Linked DNA regions of Homo sapiens: region 2 is linked to region 1. Evidence: promoter capture Hi-C in human tissues and cell types (Jung and others, 2019). All regions are on one chromosome and are shown on one strand. Each heading gives the region's core, a stretch centred on a gene start or on the middle of the fragment in contact. The rest is flanking DNA. Distances are from core to core; before and after follow the strand shown.

Region 1 (4,142 bases), core at 1,643-4,142:
GGAGTTTGAAGATGTTAGAGTACAGAAATCTGGGAAATAGGCAAAACTTTAGGATAGGAAATGGCTCTGCCCTTACTAGTTTGTAATCTTGGTCAAGTCACTTAACTTCTCTAAGCCTCAGTTTCTCCAGTTGCAAAGAGGTATGTGTGGGGGGGTTAATGTTATTATTTAATGGTTGCTATGAATTAATTTTTATAAAGGACTTGGAGCAGTACCCGGTACAAGATAAGTGTTATTTAGTTGTTTGTTCAATAAAATAGGTAAGATGCAATGTAGAGAAAGAGGTCGGCTTTCTGGGGAGGTAAGAAGAAGATGTGGGGAAAACTAGAGCATTTAGGATAATTGATGTATGGTCTGAGATAGAAGTCAAGGGAAGAGTTGTATAAAGGTGAAAAACAAAATTGAATGACACAAAGATACGGAGAAAGAGGAAGGCCAAGAGAGACCATCAGATGCGGAAAGAAGGAGGCCTCCCAGAGTTCTCTCTGGACAGAGGGCTGATGGAAAACGAAAGAGGCAGTGAGAATAAGGAAGAAAGGCACTTGGATGGCTATTTGCCAGCAATATGTGAATGTATCTAACAGCAGATCAAACTTGAAAACAGGCATTTGACTAAATTAATGGATAACACATTCATGGTGAATTGTTAAAAGAGTGTTAAGGAAATCTGGAGACAATTCTAACCATCAAGAAATTGACAGCACAGAGGATAATAATGCTGGCCTAACCTTCATGGTTAGGTACCAAATACTAAATCTATTGCAGTATGATCTGAGGCAAGATGGAAGGTTTTATGATTCCCACATTCACCCAAAAAGTTTCCTTGATTGCAAATGCTGAAAATCTGAGATGCTTTCATTACATTTTATTTATGTTTGTGTGAAACCAGTATATTTTTGTTCTATATGAAAATGTATGTCATAAACATTCAGAAATTCAGAGGAGTTCATCCGAAAGGCTGACATGGTACACCGTGGACCGAAGCCTCTGGGGCAAAATGTTTTCTATGTATCATTCGTTGAGTCTCAGTTTGAAGAAGTACTTACACATTTGTTCTCTTTGTATTTTGCTATCCAAATGTTTGCTCATAAATTCCAATGTAGTAAATAAGGACAGTTTTGAAAGTCAGAAACTCTAAATTTCAAAAAAGCTTTATTTTTCTTTGGGTTTGTTTTCGTATGTAGTCTATTGTAGTCTATGCAGTGAACTTTGTCTTATATGCTTAAAAGGGCACTGATATTTGGTGGGCATTGGGGGGCGGGGAGTTACCTAACCAGTACTGAAAAGTTACTAAACTACCTGACACAGCTGAAACCAGGAAGGAAGGCTGTATCAGGAAGAGACTGAATATAGTCCTTAGGTGGATTTTAGTATTAGGTGACAAATTAGGTTGTATTGGACTGGCACTGTCCAATAGGAATATAATGAGGCTCACAAATGTGAGCCACATGTGTAATTTTACATTTTTAAAAATGCAAACCACATTTTTAAAAGGGGAAAACAAACAGGTGAAATTAACTTTAATAATATATTTTTTATATCCAAAGTATCATTTAACATGCAATCAACATGAAAATCATTAACAAGACATTTTACACGATGTTTTCTGCGCTGTCTTTAAATTCCAGTGTACATTTTACACATCCAGCAGTGGGCAATTCAGACTAACCATAATGCCGAGTGGTCAATAGCCACATGTGGCTAGTGGCTATCATATTAAATAGTGCAGGTTTGAACCAAAAATACTTCGCTTTGGTTGTTTTTTTTTTTTTCTTTTAGACGGAGACTTGCTCTGTCGCCAGGCTGGAGTGCAGTGGCAGATCTCGGTTCACTGCAAGCTCCGCCTCCCGGGTTCAAGTGATTCCCCTGCCTCAGCCTCCCAAGTAGCTGGGACTAAGGCGTGCGCCACCACGCCCGGCTAATTTTTTGTATTTTAGTAGAGACGGGGTTTCACCACGTTGGCCAGGATGGTCTCGATCTCCTGACCTCGTGATGCGCCCGCCTCGGCCTCCCAAAGTGCTGGGATCACAGGCGTGAGCCACCGCGCCCGGCCTGCTTTGGTATTTTTTAAGAGCAAGTTGGTAAATGGAGGCATTATATGGAGAGTGCTCGAGTATATATAGCACAGGTTAGAGCAGCACGCCGGCACCTTGAAGCGAACACGGGCTCCTCCACTCCCGTCAACACTGGGACTTTTCTGTTTTTATCTTGAGTTTGAGGCCGGGCTTCTTAGCAGACCTCAGTCTGAAACTGAAATAAACCTGGACGCAGCGTACCCTTGAATCGCAAGAACGCCGCCTTCAGTGTTTCTCCGGAGAAAAGCATTCACGCCAGGTTGTGACGAAAACATTTTTTGAGAACTCATAATGTTTATTCCTTGGATGAATCCATTATATTTATTTAGTGTCTCAGGAAGGATGATGGGCATATTGCTTGCAAAAGTTGATTTGAATCCTGATAGATTCCACTAACTTTTTTGTCTTTTTTTTTGGCTGCCTTCTTCGAGAATGGTGTCAACCCTTAATAACACCTAGCCTTACGAATCCCTGGGGTGATTCCCGACCTCGCCAGCTTTGTGGGGCTCCCCCGACTTGCCTACATTCCCTGGCAGCCTCGCAGCTTCGGGCAGATGGAGCTTCCGGCCTGCGCGCAGTGGTCGCCTGTCGTCCGCCCGCGCTCCCTTCGGCCGGAGGTCGGCGGCCCCGGGCAGAGCGCGCCGTCTGCCCCAGTATCGGGAGGCCAGTTCCGCGCTGGGCCCACGCCCTCCTCGCCCGCCGCTGCCTGCGCGCCAGGCCGGGTGGCGGAGCCGGCCGTCGCTGCTCCGAGCTCGGACCCTCCCCCGGGGTGATTTCGGCTTAGAAGGTGGAAATGCGGAAGTTTCCAGCGCCGACCGACAGACGAGGTTTGCGCTTGGCTGGGCATGTTCCGCGGCTACTCTGCGGCGCGCCAGGCCCCCGCTTTCCGCACCCCGCGACCCTAGAAGCCACCGAACCGCCGGCGGGCCATGGCCACTCTGCCGAGCGCAGAGCGCCGCGCGTTCGCGCTCAAGATCAACAGGTAAGACGCCCCCCGCGGCGCGCAGGTTGCGGCCGGACAGCCCAGCGCTGGTGTGAAGCGGAGCTTCGCTGCAGGGGCCGAGGCCGGACGAGTCCATTCGCGTCCGCGGCGGGGCGCGCCTGAGACCTGGGGCGCCCGGTTCCCGAGGCTGCGGCGGTGGAGCCGCTGGACGCGCGGCGGCTCCTGCGCTGGGCCCGGCGAGGTCCTCCCCAAGAATCTCGGTGCTCCTGGATGTCCTCAGCCGCCGGGGATCCCTTCCCCGAACAACCTCGCCCGCTCCGCCCTCCAGGTTCTTACAGGTGGCCGGGTCCCAGAAGGGTGATAGGCGCCTGGGTAACCGTGTTGGGCGCGCCACGGAGTGTCTCATAAACGGCTCCTTCCTTTGAGGCAAGTCTGAGCGCGGGGGGAAGAAGTGAAGTGGCTGAAATTAGAGTTGCGTTTGAGGCAGGCTGCAAGCCTTCTGTCGTCCTGAGCAAGGCTCCGTCCTCGCCTGCTTCATTATTCCAGAAAGAGCTTGGCTCCTGGTGGCATCGCTATTTTTATACCCTGGTCCAAAGGAGCCATGAAGTGGAAAAAGTGATTTTTTAAAAAATCTACACTTAAATAAACCAAAAGAAATGGCCTGTGGCTGACATTTTGAGATTTACAGAACTCCAGCAAAAAGCTAAGGACTGGGGGATCCCAACTCACCATCCAATTCCTAATCAAAGTTGCACAAACTAAATATGTAAGCACATTTACTGCTCAAAGTTCTCAGTAAAGGTGCTTTAACTGCAGTTTTTCCTCCACTAAAAACTGCTGACAAGTAATTGGGACATTTTTGTCTTGCCCTGAGAAAGCTAGACTGTCTAGTTAAAAGATAATAGGAAACTCATTCTAAAGTGTCAACTTATTCTATTGCCCACAGGGCTGTCCGATTTGTTAATCTTCACTTAGCTGAGCCTGTGAAAGGTGGATTCCACCGTAGGTTCATCTTTGTGCTGTTAGTGTGTGAAGAGGTTTGAACAAGGAATTAAAAGCCTAGAAAAACAAGGCGATAAGGTCTTCTAGAGGGCATATCGAGCTTTATTGACGATTTTATTTCC
Region 2 (5,306 bases), core at 2,722-5,221, 470 kb after region 1:
ACAGAGCCAGACCCTATCTCTAAAGCAAAAAACAAAAAACATTTTATTATGGTACTGCTAACAGTACTGCAGCGTCTTTTGTTAAGGAGGTAAGAGCATCATAAATTGCTCTTGACTGTTCTCTCATAGCCAGCTAGGAAGTAAATGGTGATTGTTGGTTAGGAAAATAGCTGTGTTTCTTTGGGGTGTAGGGATGAGGCAGTCTGCTTTTTCCCCAAGTTTCTGAATCATGTTGTAAACTGAATGCACTGATTGATACCTCTCTAAACACTAATGTTGTGAAACTTTAATTAGAGCTTAGATATGCTTTAGAAGCCAAATAACAAGTGGCTTATTTGTGAAAGAAAGATAATAATAGCTATCCTACCTTCTTCACAAGGTGGTTGTGCAGGGAAAAAAAGAATAGCTGTAAAAACACTTTTTAAAACACAAAGTGCTGGTCATATGTCAGGGGATAGCACCATTCCCCTTGTTCTCTTGTCCTTGTCATGAGCCGCTGATCAGGAAACATCCCAGGTACCCTCATGTCAGGCCCTGCTGGACGCCATGATATTGGGGCCAGAGTTGTATTAACATCCTCATTAAACCCAGTTAAATGACATAAATGGATGAGCACTGGGAGGTGACTTTTTATGCCTGCTCTTATCATCTTTATTTTTGCTACTAGTTGCCTTCCCCAATTGATTATAGCTTTTCCCTCATGCTCTTTCTTTTTTTGCAGCCTGGATATATATTTTTTCAGACAGATACATATTTATTTATTAAAGATGCTTATTGAATTGCATTAAAATGTTATTTAGGCTGGGCACGGTGGCTTACGCCTGTAATTCCAGCACTTTGGGAGGCCGATGCAGGTGGATCACCTGAGGTCAGGAGCTCGAGACCAGCCTGGCCAACATGGTGAAAACCCGTCTCTACTAAAAATATAAAAACTAGCTGGGTGTGGTGGTGGGCGCCTGTAATTCCAGCTACTCGGGAGGCTGAGGCAGGAGAATTGCTTGAACCCGGGAGACGAAGGTTGCAGTGTCCCGACACAGTGCTACTGCACTCCAGCCTCCATGACAAAGTGAGACTCCGTCTCAAAAAAAAAAAAAGAAAAGTTATTTAAATTAATGATAACATAAAATTTGACAGGAAACCAGAAGAGAAGAATTACTCAAAATTCCACACTAGGTCTTATTTTTAGTATTTATTTTTCATGCTTTTCAGGCTAACAAACTTAAACACAGTTTCAATAAGCTTTTATAATTTGGATATCAGCTCTTGACTTTAACATTCTTTGCATTTTTCCAAGTCTTCATGGAAAATAGTTTTCAAATTATTATTTTCAATGACTGTATAATATTCCTTATGGTGTTTCTACCAGTTGAAGTATTCTTTTTTTGTTTGGATGTTTGGACTGCTTCCACATTTTCCCTATGGTAGATGATGTTGCAGAGAACATCTTCCCTGGTCATTTTTCTCCTCCTTTTTTATTATTTCCCAACAATTTCAAAGAAGCAGGATGACTGGGTTAAAGGGCACAATGTTTTCATGGCTTTAGTAACTGTTGTGGGGCTTGAATCTCGTTATCTTGGTCAGTTATTTGGCTCCAGCTTTTGTCTCTATGCTGATCTTAAATGAGTACAAAGGCCACTGATAAGACCGGGTCAGCCAGACAGAGCCAGGCTCATGGCAGGGTAGGCAGAATGCTGCAGTGCGGTGCACCCCACTCTCGCTTGTGTAAATATTTTTCTGGGCAGGAGCGTTTCTCAAACAGAACTCTGAGCCCACTGCGGTGAACCTGATAGCAGGAATTACGTGCTATTTGTCAAGTATAAGACTAGTTTGCAGTGACTGGTCTGGCTAGAACCCACCTGGTGTTTTCTGAGATCATCTGTAAGGAAACACACAGCACAGCAGAGGCAGTGTGCGCCCGTGGTGGTGAGTCTTAGACCTGTCATCTGTGTTAGCATTACCCCGAAGGCAGAGAGTTTGCTGATTAGAAACTATGGCTGCTTTAATTCATGGGTACCCTCCGTGACTTTTCAGGGTCTCCTGGTTGAATGAATTTGCAGAAGGATTAAAATGTGTGTTCTTATTTGTGCTTTGTATTCTCCCATAAGTAGTGTGTTGGAGGCTATTAGAATAGCTGAGAGGGTAAAACATAAACACATAGGTAGGAGCCTGACATAAACACATAGGTAGGAGCCTGCCATAAGCACGTAGGTAAGAACTAAAAGGGTGTGTTTCCATTTCAGTTGTCCAGCCTTCCTTCCATACTCTCAGATGACAAAACACAAGTTGCTGAGCTCACACAGCTAATGACTAAGCCAGAAGTTGGACATGGAGAACATTTTTCCTTTGTTCAAGGTTATTTATTATGTTGACATTTAAAATCAGAAGTGTGATATCTGTGAAGTTCTGATTAAACAGATCAAGTGAAAAGGATGTAGTTCAGAAAACTGCATAAAACCCTAAAGTACAGTGTTTAAAAATAAAACGTCCTCCCTGATAGGGATTATGTTGGTAAGTTACTTTTTTTCTTAGTATGGATTATTTCAAATTAATAAACATATTGTTATTCCTTTATTTATTGCATCATACAGCTTCATCCTAGTATTAGTGTGTTTAATAATTGCATTTAATTAGATTATGCATTTCAACTTTCAATGAAACTGTAGCTGTTAGTCTTTTGAAGGCTAATTTCACGCTGAAATTTATAGATGAAATAATTTTCTTATAGTGGTGGTGTTTGAGAAGATAATGTAACTACTTCTTAGATTTCAATTTCATAACCCTTAAAATGTTGGGACCACCTACAAATGGGGGACACCCTGGGTTTTGAAGTCTTGCCTGTGTGGTTAATCAGAACCTCAGAATTCACCCAGCCCCCGGAGAGGTTTTGAAAAGCCCCTGGCTCATCAGAGCTTGCTTGTTTCATAAACTCTTAAGGCTTTGTTTTAACCTGTAGCCAGCTTCGCCTTATAAGCTTTCTTGCCCCAAGCCTTGAGCCAGTCATAATGGCTTAAGCATCAGATTTCAGACAGGCGATTAGCTCTCCAGCTAAGCCAAGAAAGGATGATTTATCTTCCAGTGAGTACCAGCCTATTTGAGTGTAGGAAGGAGAAAAATCTGTGCTCCTGCTCCTGGGTACTGGGCAAAGAAACCCTTTGGTTGGGGATTTTTGCCTGGTACCAACTTTATAGGTGCCAACAAGAAAGAAAGAAAAAAACACATACAAAATAAACACCCAACAGGGAGATTCGCTGTGTTAAGAACTCGAGCTGTTGCTATTATTCTAAGAGACTGGGTAGCCAGTCAAAGGGTTAAAACAGCCCTTCCTACAAGGATTTGAAAACTCTGTGCTCTGCTCTTCCTCAGCAGACTTCTCGTTGTGAGTATTGGCATTTATTTCTGATTATGCACTTCCCCTCTTTCTTGAATGAGTTGGGTGGGCTAGCTGAGCCCATCAAAGGTATAGCTCATTTGCTTCCTTTTCCAGGGTTTGCCTTCTTCCTGTGTCTGGGATAATTTCAGTTCATCTCCTTTGTGCAGTTTCTGAGAAAGGTTTGTATGGGCTTAGAGGAAAATGATCGTGACTAAAGCTCACAGTCACCGCTTTGGCTCCTTTTCTATAAAAGGTGGTTTGATTTGATCTGGCATGAAAAATATTATCATAATTCTCAAATTCACAGAAACGATAAGTTCTTGCTCTTTCCTGACCAAAAAAAAAAATTAATTGCATTGGGTAGACTTCTCTAATAAAACCTTTAAGGAGACCCATCCAGGAAATCAGATTTTATAAGATTCATTCAAACAGTTGTAGAAATTCTAAGTTCAAAAACCAAAAGCAGACTCTTTTCTTTTTCCTTCCTTGGCTTCTCTGTTGGATATTTTTGGAGTGAGCCTTAACTGAGTTACTCATTTCCACATGCTTTAGGAAAAGTATGCTCATGTTTTACAGGCTAAGCCTGGTTCTGCTTTTGAGCTGCAGTTCATTATGAATCCGGAAAACACAGGTTTTTGAAATGCGGCCCATTTGTACATATAGCATTAGTCATCTCAGCTGGTAGTTCTATACGATGAGTTATCTCACCACTTAAAAATAAGTACGCTGCTATTTTGAGATTTAAAAATATATATAGTGACCAGATTTCTTACCCTAGTTAAAGCAAGCCATGGCTGAAACTCAGATTAAACAATATTCTATAAAAATGAGAGAAGGCCACTCTAATCAACAGATAGAAAAACAGAACTATAGACATAAGGGAGAGCTGTGCTAAGGGACAAATTGTTGGATTTGTAGGATTTGTTCGTATCCTGAAAGTTAAATCTTTGTACTCTTACCTTGTTTATGGCCAGATTTGCCTGATCCCTGATTTCCCTCCCAACTGGATCAGAGGTTGTGGAATTGGAATTTCACCATACAAACCTTTACTTAAAGGAGGTAGTACTAGAGTAACCATTTATGGGAACAGTTTGCTACTAATAGTTACTAGTACTGAGTTTATTTTAGTTCCTTTTTCATGATTTTATTCCATTGGAAAAGTTTTCTCTCAGGGATCTTTTCTACTTTGGACATGATCTCTGTTAGGCAGAATCAAAAGATAGCTGTGTGGCTTTCTGAATTTAGTCTCACAATATTTGGTTTAGTTGATAAATCCCATCCATCAGCTTTGCAAATAATTTTGTGAAAACATTGATTCAGCTTGTCCTGCCCAATTTTCCCATCCCTGCCCAGTTTACTGAGTGCCTTTTCCATTTGCATCCACTGTCCATTAGGCCAAGGCGTTTGAAGTGTTTCTGTACAGCAGGTACATTTAAGACTCTCCAGGAAGAAAGGGGGAAGAATATTCCAAACTGAAAACATCAAAGAGAGAGATGGGGTATTTCCAGTAACTTATATGCCCAGTGCTTAATATCTTAAAAACCCTACTCATGTGCATCAGCTCTTACTTTTTTCTAACTAAAACCAGAAAAAAGTTCTCTCTTCCTCTGTTCTCAGTATCCCCCTCATGTAAGTCTGTCTACCCAACACGGTGCAGCCGATTTATTTATTTTTCCCTCAGCATTTTTAGGTGGATTGACTGGGATGCTTTATTCAACTCAGGGACGCACCACGAATATGTTTTTTGGGGCAACCCGTTTGGCATGTTCCCCCTCAGCTGTGAGGACAAAGACTGGTTTGTCTTCTTGTGACCTGGCAGAGGAGGCAGAAGTACCTGCTGAGCTTATGCAGCATGTACCCCAACCGGTGCCCCACCTCTTCAAGTGGTGAATCAGCCTGATGATACACTGATTTTTAGAACACGCTAGGGTGGAGA

Evidence for each region. The method cuts DNA at HindIII sites, captures the fragments that hold promoters and counts their contacts. A contact is called where the count stands out against the background at its distance.
Region 2: a fragment that was not itself captured here is called in contact with the fragment with the promoter of DOCK8 in region 1 in 1 of the 25 tissues and cell types used here (mesendoderm cells).

Annotation. Positions count from the first base shown.
Region 1 is chr9:211,973-216,114 of GRCh38, forward strand. It overlaps DOCK8 (dedicator of cytokinesis 8), which reads left to right and starts at 2,893. Exons shown (of 48, transcript NM_203447.4): 1 at 2,893-3,057. The coding sequence starts at 3,005. DOCK8-AS1 (DOCK8 antisense RNA 1) reads right to left here and starts at 3,778. Exons shown (of 1, transcript NR_160804.1): 1 at 1,485-3,778. RefSeq lists silencers at 2,648-2,897, 2,908-2,957, 3,008-3,057, 3,228-3,367. The HindIII fragment of the contact is 11,669 bases long and covers 1-4,142 here.
Region 2 is chr9:681,199-686,504 of GRCh38, forward strand. All of the region lies in intron 2 of KANK1 (KN motif and ankyrin repeat domains 1), which reads left to right. KANK1-AS1 (KANK1 antisense RNA 1) reads right to left here and starts at 4,357. Exons shown (of 3, transcript NR_198989.1): 1 at 4,330-4,357. The HindIII fragment of the contact is 3,732 bases long and covers 2,106-5,306 here.